Linked DNA regions of Homo sapiens: region 2 is linked to region 1. Evidence: promoter capture Hi-C in 16 types of primary human blood cells and fetal thymus (Javierre and others, 2016). All regions are on one chromosome and are shown on one strand. Each heading gives the region's core, a stretch centred on a gene start or on the middle of the fragment in contact. The rest is flanking DNA. Distances are from core to core; before and after follow the strand shown. Region 1 holds the start of AADACL3 (arylacetamide deacetylase like 3). Region 2 overlaps VPS13D (vacuolar protein sorting 13 homolog D).

Region 1 (6,184 bases), core at 2,164-4,663:
GAAAAATTGGGGCATAGAACAGATTCTGAGCTTCTCAAATATCATCCCCTGTTGGAGAGAGAAGAAATGATGGGTCGAGATGGGTTTCTTCACAGGCCATCTGGAGTCTGGCCTTCACAACCTGCCCTCCACAGGTGGCAAAAGGAGTTTTTGGAAACTGCAGTCAGATTGGATTACAGCCCTACTCAAGCCCTCAGTTCCCTCAGGACACCTGCAGGAAAATCCACTCCCATGCAGGCCCAGGTGGCCACAGCACCAGCCAGCCCCTCTCAACCCACTCTCCTGACACCTTCCACTGCAGCCACTACAAGCCAGGCTTCTGGGCACCCTTGATGGTCCCTCTACTTGCAACACCCACCTCCACCACGAGGCCCTGCTCCACCTCAGCCTGGGCGCAACATCTGTTTCCAGGGAGGCCTTCCTGTGCCGTCCCAGCCAATCTGGCCACCCCAAGCCTGTGTAGCTAACTATAGTGTGGGTACATTTTTTAAAAACAGGAAGGGGGAGTTCATATCTTTTGAAAATGCCTACTGAAAATTTTTAGGATAAAATAATATGATGTCCATTGGCTTCTTAAATAAATGAAAATGAGGGAAAAGTTAGAGACATTTAGGGACACAGGGAAGGGAGACAGGCCAGGAGTCAGTGATGGTGACACTGGAGAGTGGGCACCCTGTTCCCCTTTGGTATATGTCAAAGTTTGCATAAAGGGTTGAAAATACAGCCAGGCACAGTGGCTGATACCTGTAATCCCAGCACTTTGGGAGGCCAAGGCTGGTGGGTCACTTGAGGTCAGGAGTTCAAGGCCAGCCTGGCCAACATGGTGAAACCCAGTCTCTACTGAAAATACAAAAATTAGCCGGGTGGGTGTGGTGGTGGGCTCCTGTATTCCCGGCTACTCGAGAGGCTGAGGCAGAAGAATCTCTTGAACCCTAGAGGCAGAGGTTGCAGTAAGCCGAGATCATGCCATTGCACTCCAGCCTGGGCAACAAGAGTAAAACTCCAGCTCAAAAAAAAAGAGTTAAAAATACGTAAATAAAGAGGGCTCTCCCTCTGGGTATCCTTTCCAGTGTTTCCTAATCCTTGTCTGTGCCACAGCCATTTTGGCCTTGGGAAAAGCTGCAGGCCTCATTTGAGAACTTTTTTTTTTTTTTTTTTTTTTTGGAGAGAAGAGGCCTCATTATGTCACCCAGGCTGGTCTCAAACTCCTGGACTCAAACAGTCCTCCCACCTCAGCCTCCCAAAGTGCTGGGATTACAGGTGTAAGCCACTACACCCAGCCCAGAACATTTTTAAATACATAAAATAAATACATGGGATTATAAAGAAAAGCAGTGTTATTTAAATATACTTATCAAAATATTAAAATGTATGTCATAATAATATAGGTTCTTCCTTACTAGCACATAGAGTAATAAGATCTAACTGCTGCCTGATACTACCCTAGTTTCAAAGAAATGAGGAGAATACATGAGTTTTCGCAATATCTAATAGGCAATGCAAATATGTCTGATTTCTCTTGGTGAAAAGTCGAGGTCTGGCTTTCAGGACTGTGGTTTGTTGCCTTCATTCCTCATGAGAAGAATTTCAATTGGAAGTTAGTTGTGAACATGGGGTAATTTTGACCCCATCCAAATCCATGACCCCCTTGTGTTCTGTGACCCAAATCCATGACCCCCTTATGTTCTGTGATCCAAATCCATGACCCCCTTGTGTTCTGTGGCCCCGGGGGCTCAAGATGCCCCAGGAGAGAAGCCCTGCTCGGCTCCCCTGACGGGTTTTGCTGTCCTCCTTGCATTCTCCGCTTTGGGAAGCTGTTTATCTGTAGCTTGTTCTATTGTGGGTTAGCTTCTTTATAGACCACTTCCCCGCTGCCCACTGCCTGGACCCTACAAGCTCCCTAAAGGCAGACCTGTGGAACTTTACCTCTCTCACCTGTCATTGGCCCTAGAGCCCAGGACTGGCGTAGGACACACAGCAGTTGCATAACACATCTTTGCATAAAAAATAAAAGAATCAACAAAGAGTAACAATGGCTACTATTTAAGGAGGGCTCCCTCTGTGTCAGGCATTATAATAAGCCTTCTGGAGAGGGTTATTCATGGAGTCTCCACAAAACCCTGTGAAGTAGGAGCAATTTTCCCTACTTTGCAAAAGAGGAAATCGAGTCACTGTATTTGGGAGCCTGGACTACAGAATCTGAGCATCAAGGGTAGGAAAACCTAGGACCCAATCACTGCATCTTATAAAAGCTGACTGGAGATCAGAAGCCTAGAGTTCCCGGGATCTTCTCTTTTAGGTAATAGCTACATTCTTTTGAATAGCATAGAAATTATTTTGAATAGCATAGAAGACACACCTAGGGTGTCTCTTGAGAAGAGGCACTGGCAATTGCTTTTCGTTATGTAAGAAACTTACAAAAAATATTTTGTATATTCAGTTTCTGTCAAGGCACAAGAAAAAGTACAAGAAATCCGTATTGGCAACACCTACACAGTTCCATTTACAGGTATTTTAACAAATTACACCAGAAGCAGAACCAAACTATATTCCCTAGGCAGCTTTCTAGCTCTCAAAAGCAACAACATATTTTTAAAGTCACATTCTGTAATTTTGCTCACCGGCACTAATCTACTCATCCGCTACCCTTTTACTTTGTGGCTTGCTGGCTCTAGCTAACAGGTAGATAGCAGTGGGGGCCCAGAGACTCAGGAAAATTCATTCATATCTTCACAACTTCTGAGAGTGGTGAGTGCTGTGAATAATATGGACACATTTATGGACACGTGAAAGGTACACTTAAAAATGCGAAAGATGGTAAATTTTATATGCATATTTTACCTCAATTTTAAAAATAAAACAAACCAACAACAACAAAAAGAAAGTCAGCGGGAGACACTCAGGTGAATAGAACCAGACTGGTTTTTTCTTTCTGTTAACTGAGAAAGCAGATCATTCTTTGAATTTTGTGAATATTAGCCAGGGCCAGCTTCAGAAACACCCAAAGAGGCTGAGAACCACCTAATAGGGATTATGCACATTTCAGAAGGTCTGATCAGCTGTCACTGCAGGCCCCATGATACCGGTGTTCATTCAGCTAGAAGCTTCCGGTGTGTGATTTTTCCTGCCGCCTTCCTTAATGGTCAGCTGGAGGGGACACATAAAGCACAAAACTCACCCAAGTCAACAGCAGCTGGAAGATGCAATGGAGGACTCTCAGTTTCACAGGGTGGCCAACCGCTGCAGGGATGTGCACAGTGAAAAAATGGCTGCAAATGACCCACAGAGTGACCCCTAGTGAGAACACGCAGGCTGCTGCGAGGAAGATCAGGGCCAGGTCCCACATGCTGCTTCCAGCTCAGAGCGGGCTGAGAGGAAGCTGTGCGCAGTGTAAACCATTTAGGACATGGTTCAGAGCCAGCAGACCTCCTCCACTTATAAGTCACACCTGTCCTCCCCCACCTCCCTGGGTCCCACAAACACTGGCCCAGCCCAGGTGAGTCACAGGCTCAGGTGAGGATGTGGTTCTAGGACAGGGCCCATGCAGAGAAGAAAGTGGCCCATCCAGCCGGATCCAGCCACAAAAGAAAGTTCTAGAGTCCCAGCTTACAATCTGGCACTGCTAACTAGAAATAGTCTTGGATAAGCCACCAAGTCACAATGGACATCATAAACACGATTCCTCCCACCGGCCCTCGGACCTCATCCCCCCACTCTGTGATTCAACTCCAGCTTATCATCCATCCATCAGCCTGTGGAGGATGTCCCAGAGCTGTTGTACGGCAAGCCATTCTCTGTACACCATTCTTCCCCTAGACCTCGGCTAGACTCCATGCCTCCCCTCTTGCTGGTCTCTGCTCAAATGTTGCCTTCTCAGTGAGGCCATCCCTGGCAATCTTATTTAAAATTTAACTCCCGCCAGCATGCCTACGCCCACCTTCCCCAGCCCCACCTTCCCCATCCCCCACCCTTTCCACCCCCCCACCTTCCACATCCCCCACCTTCCTCATCCTCCACCTTCCCCATCCCCCATCTTCCCCATCCCCCACCTTCCTCACCCCCCCACTGCTTGGTTTTTCCCTGTGACCTTTATCATCACCTGCCTCACTTGTCTGTTTATTGTCTGGGAGGACAGGAATTTTCTTTTTGTGCCATTTTATCACCAGAGGCTGGATTGGGGCTTGGTACTTTGTAGGTGCTCAGCAAATGCCTATGGAGTGAGAGAATGAATAGACAGGCTTTGTCCTCTTTCTTGCAAATCTGGGAAACTGTGCTTGCTTTCCTCTTTCTTGCAAATCTGGGAAACTGTGCTTGCTTGCCTTTCCAGGTCAGGTCAGAGGTTGATGTCACCATTGGAAATCTTCCCTAACAACCAAGTCCCACATCTGCAGTAACAATAGTAATATCTGCTGTGTCTCCCGCCTCCCAGCTTGAGTGAGAGAGCAGTGGTTCTCAGACAGGAGAGATTTTACCTCCCAGAAGATATGGGAATATCAGAAACATTTTTGTTGTCCCCACTCAGGAAGGGCCAGAGGGCTGGTTCTAGAGTGTCATAGACAAGAGGCCAGGGATATTGCCAAACATCCTGCAATGCACAAAGACTTATGCAGTCCAGCAAGCCGATAGTATGGTGGTTGAGAAACCCTGCATTTGCAACACTTGAATTTGAATCCTGGCTCTGCCAAATGCCAGCATGCTGATCATGAGCACGTTATGTGCAATCAGCCTCAGTTTCCAAGTTTGTCAAATGGGGATAATAATAGTACTCCCCACTCCATAGGACTGTTGGCTGCCTCAAGAACACCAGCCTGTGTCAAGCACTAGTATGAGTCTGGCACGTGGGAAGACTTAATTAGATGTCAGGAAGCCAGCCTGAAGCATTCTTTCTTTCTTTCTTTTTTTTTTTTTCTGAGATGGGGTCTCATGCTGTCACCCAGGCTGGAGTGCAGTGGTGCAATCTTGGCTCACTGCAGCCTCCATCTCCCAGGCTCAAGTAATCTTCCCACCTCGGCCTCTGGAGTAGCTGGGACTACAGGTGTGCACCACCATGCATGCCCATCTAATTTTTATTTTTATTGATTTATTTGTGTGTGTGTGTGAGAGAGAGAGACTGAGTCTCTCTCTGTCACCCAACCTGGAGTGCAATGGCACAATCTCAGCTCATTGCGACCTCCGCCTCCCGGGTTCAAGCAATTCTCCTGCCTCAGCCTCCCGAATAGCTAGGACTACAGGTGTGTGACACCATGCCAGCTAATTTTTTTTGTATTTTTAGTTATTTTTTATTTTGTTATTTTAGTAGAGATGGGTTTTCACCATGTTGGCCAAGCTGGTCACGAACTCCTGACCTCAGGTGATCCACCCGCTTTGGCCTCCCAAAGTGCTGGGTGTCACGCGTGTCTGTGTAAAGAGACCACCAAACAGACTTTGTGTGAGCAACAAGGCTGTTTATTTCACCTGGGTGCAGGCAGTCTGAGTCCGAAAAGAGAGTCAGCGAAGAGAGATGGGGTGGAGTTGTTTTATAGGATTTGGGTGAGTAGTGGAAAATTACAGTCAAAGGGGGTTTTTCTCTTACGGGCAGGGGCGGGGGTCACAAGGTGCTCAGTGGGGGAGGTTCTGAGCCAGGAGAAGGTTTCACAAGGTTAATGGCTCAGTTAAGGTGGGGCAGGAACAAATCACAATGGTGGAATGTCATCAGTTAAGGCAGGAAGCAGCCATTTTCACTTCTTTTGTGATTCTTCACTTGCTTCAGGCCATCTGGATGTATACATGCAGGTTTGGGCTCAGAGGCCTGACATTCCTGTCTTCTTATATTAATAAGAAAAATAAAACAAAATAGTGTTGAAGTGTTGGGGCAGTGAAAAATTTTCGGGGTACTATGGAGAGATAATGGGTGATGTTTCTCAGGGCTGCTTCGAGGGGGATTAGGGGCAGCATGGGAACTTAGAGTGGGAGAGATTAAGCTGACAGAAGATTTTGTGGTAAAGGGCAATATTGTGGGGTTGTTAAAGGGAGCATTTGTCATATAGAATGATTGGTGATGGCCTGGATATGGTCAGGAAAGGTAAAACGGACTAATGGTCTTTTCCCAAAAACTCACCAACCAAGCAAGTAATTATGCTCAACCCTCTTGGGCACTCTCTAATTGGATGTCCTGGGTCCTCCCAATTCTTAGTCCTTTAATACT
Region 2 (5,660 bases), core at 482-2,981, 450 kb after region 1:
CATACTGGATTAGGGAAGACTAGAAGAGGAAACATAGTTCCTTCTGTAGCCAGGTCTCGAAGAAACAGTCCACCCAACCGGACTGAAAGCAACGAGGAATTTCTTCGAGGAAGAGACTCTGCTAGAAGTTTTACATCTATAAAAGATAAATAAAATAGTTGATACAATGCTTATGAGAGCCTAATGTGTTTTTGAAAATATTAGATATTCTATTTTACAGAAGATTATTATAGATGAACTATTTTTCCTTGAAATTAAACAAACAAACAAAAAAACCCTATCTATCTACAGGCACATATTGGAGATATTGCGGGTTTGGTTCCAGACCACTGCAATAAAGTGAGGATCACAATAAAGCAAGTCACACAAATGTTTTGGTTTCCCAGTGCATAGAAAAGTGATGTTGACACTATACAGTAGTGTACTGAGTGTGCAATAGCATTATGCCTGAAACTACAATATAGATACCTTAATTTTAAAATATTTTATTGCTAGAAAGTGCTAACAATCCTGTGAATCTTCAGCAAGTTGTAATCTTTTTGCTGATGGAAGGCCTTGCCTACATGATGATGCCTGCTGACTGATCAAGGCGTGGTTGCTGAAGTGTTGGGGTGACTGTGGTGATTTCTTAAAATAAGACAACAACGAAGTTTGCTACATCAACTGACTCTTCCTTTCACAGAAGATTTCTCTGTAGCAGGTGATGCTGTTTGATAAAGCATGTATTTAACCACAGTAGAATTTCTTTCAAAACCACAGTCAATCCTCTCAAACCCTGCCATTAGCAACTAAGTTGATTTAGTATCCTAAAAACTTTATTGTCATTTCCTTTTTTATTTTGTTTTCTTTTTTGAGACAAGGTCTTGCTTTGTCACCCAGGCTGGAGTGCAGTGGTGCAATCATAGCTCACTGTAACTTCAAAGTCCTGGGCTCAAGGGATCCTCCTACCTCTCAGTCTGCCACGTAGCTAGGACTACAGGAGCATGTCACCATGACCAACTAATTTTTTTTTTAATTTTTAGTAGAGATAGGGTCTTGCTATGTTGCCCAGGCTGGTTGTGAACTCCTGGCCTGAAATGATCCTCCTGCCTTGGCCTCCCGAAGTGCTGGGATTACAGGCGTGAGCCACCACGCCCAGCCTTGGGTTGTCATTTCAACAGTGTTCATAGTATCTTCACCAGGAGTAGATTCCATCTCAAGAAACTACCTTCTTTGCTCATCTGTAAGAAATAACTCTTTATCCATTCAAGTTTGATCATGAGATTCCAGCAATTCAGTCACATCTTCAGGTTCCACTTCTAATTCTAGTTCTCTTGCTATTTACCCCACATTTGCAGTTACTTCCTCCACTTAAGTCTTGAATCCCTCAAAGTCATCCAAGAGGGTTGATTTCTTCCAAACTCCTGTTAATGCTGATATTTTGACCTCCTTCCACGAATTACAAATGTTCTTCATGGCATCTAGAATGGTGAATCTTTTCCCGAAGCTTTTCTATATACTTTACCTAGGTCCATCAGAGGAATCACTATTTATGGCAGCTACAGCCTATGCAATGTATTTCTTGAATAATAAAAGTTGAGGCTGGGAGTGGTAACTCACACCTGCAATCCCAGCACTTTGGGGGCTGAAGCAGGAGGATCGTTTGAGGCCAGGAGTTTGAGACCACCCTGGCCAAAAAAGTGAGAGCTCATCTCTGAATAAATTAAGCAATTAATTAAAGAAACAAACAAACTTGAATGTTGAAATTACTCCTGGATCCATGGGCTGCAGAATGGATGTTGTGTTAGCAGGCATGAAAACAACACTAATTTCTTTATACTTCTCCCAGCAGAGCTCTTGAGTGACTGGATGCATTATCCACGAGCAGTAATATTTTGAAAGGAATCTTTTTTTCTGAGCAGTAGGTCTCAATAGTGGCCTTAAAATCTTCTGTAAACCATGCTGTAAACAGATGTACTGGCATCATCCAAGCTTTGTTGCTCCATTGATAGAACACAAGCAGAGGAGATTGAGCATAATTCTTAAGGGCCCTGGGATTTTCAGAAAGGTAAATCAGCAACTTAAAGTCACCAGCTGCACTGGCCCCTAACAAGAGAGTCAGCCTGTTCTTTGAAGCTTTGAAGCCAGGCATTGACTTCTCCTCTCTAGCTATGAAAAGTCCTAGATGGCATTTTCTTCCAATAGAAGGCCTTTTCATCTACAATGAAAATCTATCATTTAGCATAGCAAGGATCTTAGCTGGATCTTCTGGATAACTTGCTGCAGCTTCCCCATCAGCACTGGCTGCTTCACCTTGCACTTTTATGTTATGGAGATGGCTTCTTTCCTTCAAACTCATGAACCAGCCTCTGCTAGCTTCAAACTTTTCTTCTGCAGTTTCCTCACCTCTTCCAGCCATCCCAGAACTGAAATGAGTTAAGGCCTTGCTGTGCATTAGGCTTTGGCTTAAGGAAAGGCTGTGGCTGCTTTGATCTTCTATCCAGACCAAACTTTCTCCATTGCAGCAGTAAGGCTGCTTTGCTTTCTGATCATTCATGTGTTCGCTGAAGTAGCACTTTTACTAATAATTTCCTTCCAGAACTTTTCCTTTGCATTCACAACTTGGCTAACTGTTTGGCACAAGTGGCCTAGCTTTTGGCCTATCTCAGCTTTCGACGTCTTCCTCACTAAGCTTAATCACGTTTAGCTTTTGATTTAAAGTGAGAGACATGTGACTCTTCCTTTCACCTGAACATTTAGAAGCCATTGTAGGGTTATTAGCCCAATTTCAACATTGTGTCTCAGGTAATAGGGAGGCCCCAGGAGAGGAAAAGAGACAAGGAAATGGCCAGTCGGTGGAGCAGTTGGAACATACACAATATTGACTAAGTTACCATCTTCTATGGGCATGGTTCATAGCACTCCAAAACAAATACAATAATAACATTACAAATTGGTGATTACAGATCACCATAAGAGACAGAATAATAATGGAAAAGTTTGAAATACTGGGCAAATTACTAAAATGTGACACAGAGACACAAAGTGAGCACATGCTGTTGGAAAAATGGCACCTATAGACTTGCTCATTTTTAAACTGTCAATTTGTAAAAAATGTGGTGTCTATGAAGTGCAATAAGGCAAAGTGCAATAAAATCAAGTGTGCCTGTATCTATCCAGCTGTCTAAACACACAAACACCATTAGAAGTTTCCTAGCAGAAGGAATTTTAAATAGTGCCTTTTCAATTCAGTTCAAGTAATCTGCTAGTTAATACTAAGTTTATGACAGCTCAATTTTCTACATTATGAAGTCAAACAAACTGGCTTTTTAAAAAAAATCATTTGTCCTTCAGCCACTCAGGAATCTCAAATAAGCTGCTGTTTTATGGACCGAAATAAAAATATTTGTGAGATGTCCAAACATCTGCATATTTATTTATACACCTTTAATTCAAAGTCACAAAAACATCTGCATATTTATTTATACACCTTTAATTCAAAGTCACAAAAAGAAGGCAAATACTGTCAAGTCAATCCTCATTATTCACAGATTCCATATTTGCACATTTGTTTACTTGCTAAAATTTGTAACTCCAAAATTAATCCTCATGGCACTCTGTCATTCAGACACTCACAGAGCAGAAAAAAATTCAAGCCACCTGATATGCACATTCCCACCTGAGTTCAAACATGGCAACGCTCTGCCTCCTCATTTCAGCTCTCACACTGTGAACAAGCATCCCTCCCATGGTCTTCTATTTGGCGCCATGTTTTTCATGCTTCTGTGCTTTTTGTTTGTGGTTTCACTGTTTAAAACAAGCCCCTAGTGCTAAAACGCTGCCTAGTGGTCCTGAGTGCAAGAAGACTGTGATGTGCGTTACAAAAAAAATATGAGTATTAGAGAAACTTCATTCAGGCATGAGGTATAGTGCTATAGGCCATGAGTTCAATGTTAATAAATCAATAACACAATGCTCCTTGACTTAGGATGGAGTTATGATAAACCCACCATAAGTTGAAAATATCATAAATCAGCTGAGCGCAATGGCTCAGGCCTGTAATCCTGGCACTTTGGGAACCCGAGGAGGACAGATTGCTTGAGGTCAGGAGTTCAAAACCAGCCTGGCCAACGTAGCGATACCTTGTCTCCACTAAAAATACAAAAATTAGCTGGGCATGGTGGCGCGCGCCTGTAGTCACAGCTACTCAGGAGGCTGAGGCAGGAAAATCGCTTGAACCCAAGAGGCAGAGGTTGCAGTGAGCCAAGATCATGCCACTGCACTGCAGCCTAGGCGACAGAGCAAGACTCTGTCTCAAAAAAAAAAAAAAGAAAGAAAATACAGTAAGTCAAAAATGCATTTCATATACCTAACCTACTGGACATCACAGCTTGGCCTAGCCCACCTTAAAAGTGCTCAGAATACTTACATTAGCCTAAAGGTAGGCAAAATCATCTGGCCACACAGTCCACTGTAGACTATTAGCTGCTTACCTCATGACCGCATGGCTGACTGGGAGCTGTGGCTCACTGTTGCTGCCCAGCATCTTCAGAGAATATCATACTACCTATCTCTAGCCCAGGAAAAGATCAAAATTCAAAATCCGAAGTATGACTTCTACTGAATGTGTATAACTCTTGTGCCACTTGTAAAGTTGAAAAATCCAAAGTCAAACTATCCTAAGTCAAGGACTGTCTGTATATCTATATTAAATGTCTTTAAATACAGACACGCATTTTAAAAATTAAGGTTAGGTACTGATCAGTTGATGAATGTTATGACCAGAGGTTCACATGAACCTAACCCAGTATTTCCCCTAAGAGCAATGGTTCCACATTAGCTAATACAGTTTTCGCACTGACTTTCTAGACTATCCCCACAGCAAATAATGAGAATCGCCTGGACATTGGCCCACAGAGAGACAACAGTGGCAGGTAGTTTCTTGGGGGCAGTGTACCTGAAAACTCGAGCTGCATGAAAGCACTTTCATTCATTTGAGGAGTTCCTTGCTCCTTGTGTAACAGAGTCACTGTACCTCGCTGCAACTGCAAATTCAGTTTGGCAAAGACATGATCTCGCTTTGTATACGTGTTCATACACGAGGCATCTGCAGTGGGGTCAAAAAACTCCTCAGTGCCTAAATGGTAAGGGAGAAAAGACTGTAAGAAAAAACGTGGAAGAATAAAAAAGCACCAGCAAGCAGACTGATCACAGTTATGATGATGTTATTTAACTATTTTTCCCTTTGTTAAGAAAGAACTCCAAAGTCATGGGTGACTATTTTATAATATTTCCTAATGTAAAACAACCCTAATTGTTTTTTAAGGGATCTTATCAACTTATTATCAAACCAGGGAGGATAAGATTCATGATAAGGGATGGTATAAAGCAGTGCTGCCCAGCATGGTGAAATGGTCCGCATCTGCGATATCCAGTACAGTGGCCACTAACCACATGTGGCTACTGAGCACTGGGAGCACACGTGGCTAATGTGCTAGTGCAATTAAGAAACTAAATTTTTACTTGTATTCAATTCGAATTAAATTTTAGTTAGCCATTTGTGCCTATGGCTAGATATCGGACACTGCAGGTTTAAGAGAGGCTCTAGACTGGTATTCAAACTTCAGAGTTTAAAATTGTTGAACTTGCTCAAATTTAGTTCTTTTACACGCTCTGCCTCT

Evidence for each region. Contacts are between HindIII fragments. The CHiCAGO score rates a contact against its expected background, and 5 or more counts as called.
Region 2: a contact is called between a fragment that was not itself captured here and the fragment with the promoter of AADACL3 in region 1, in 1 of 17 cell types (fetal thymus). The highest score is 6.0, in fetal thymus.

What each region holds. Positions count from the first base shown.
Region 1 is chr1:12,713,339-12,719,522 of GRCh38, reverse strand. It overlaps AADACL3 (arylacetamide deacetylase like 3), which reads right to left and starts at 3,413. Exons shown (of 4, transcript NM_001103170.3): 1 at 3,179-3,413; 2 at 1-48. The coding sequence starts at 3,346. RefSeq lists an enhancer at 2,739-3,938. The HindIII fragment of the contact is 3,124 bases long and covers 3,107-6,184 here.
Region 2 is chr1:12,261,357-12,267,016 of GRCh38, reverse strand. It overlaps VPS13D (vacuolar protein sorting 13 homolog D), which reads right to left. Exons shown (of 70, transcript NM_015378.4): 13 at 4,937-5,116; 14 at 6-136. Among named protein-coding and RNA genes, the nearest start is that of VPS13D, 34 kb to the right of the region's middle. The HindIII fragment of the contact is 485 bases long and covers 1,489-1,973 here.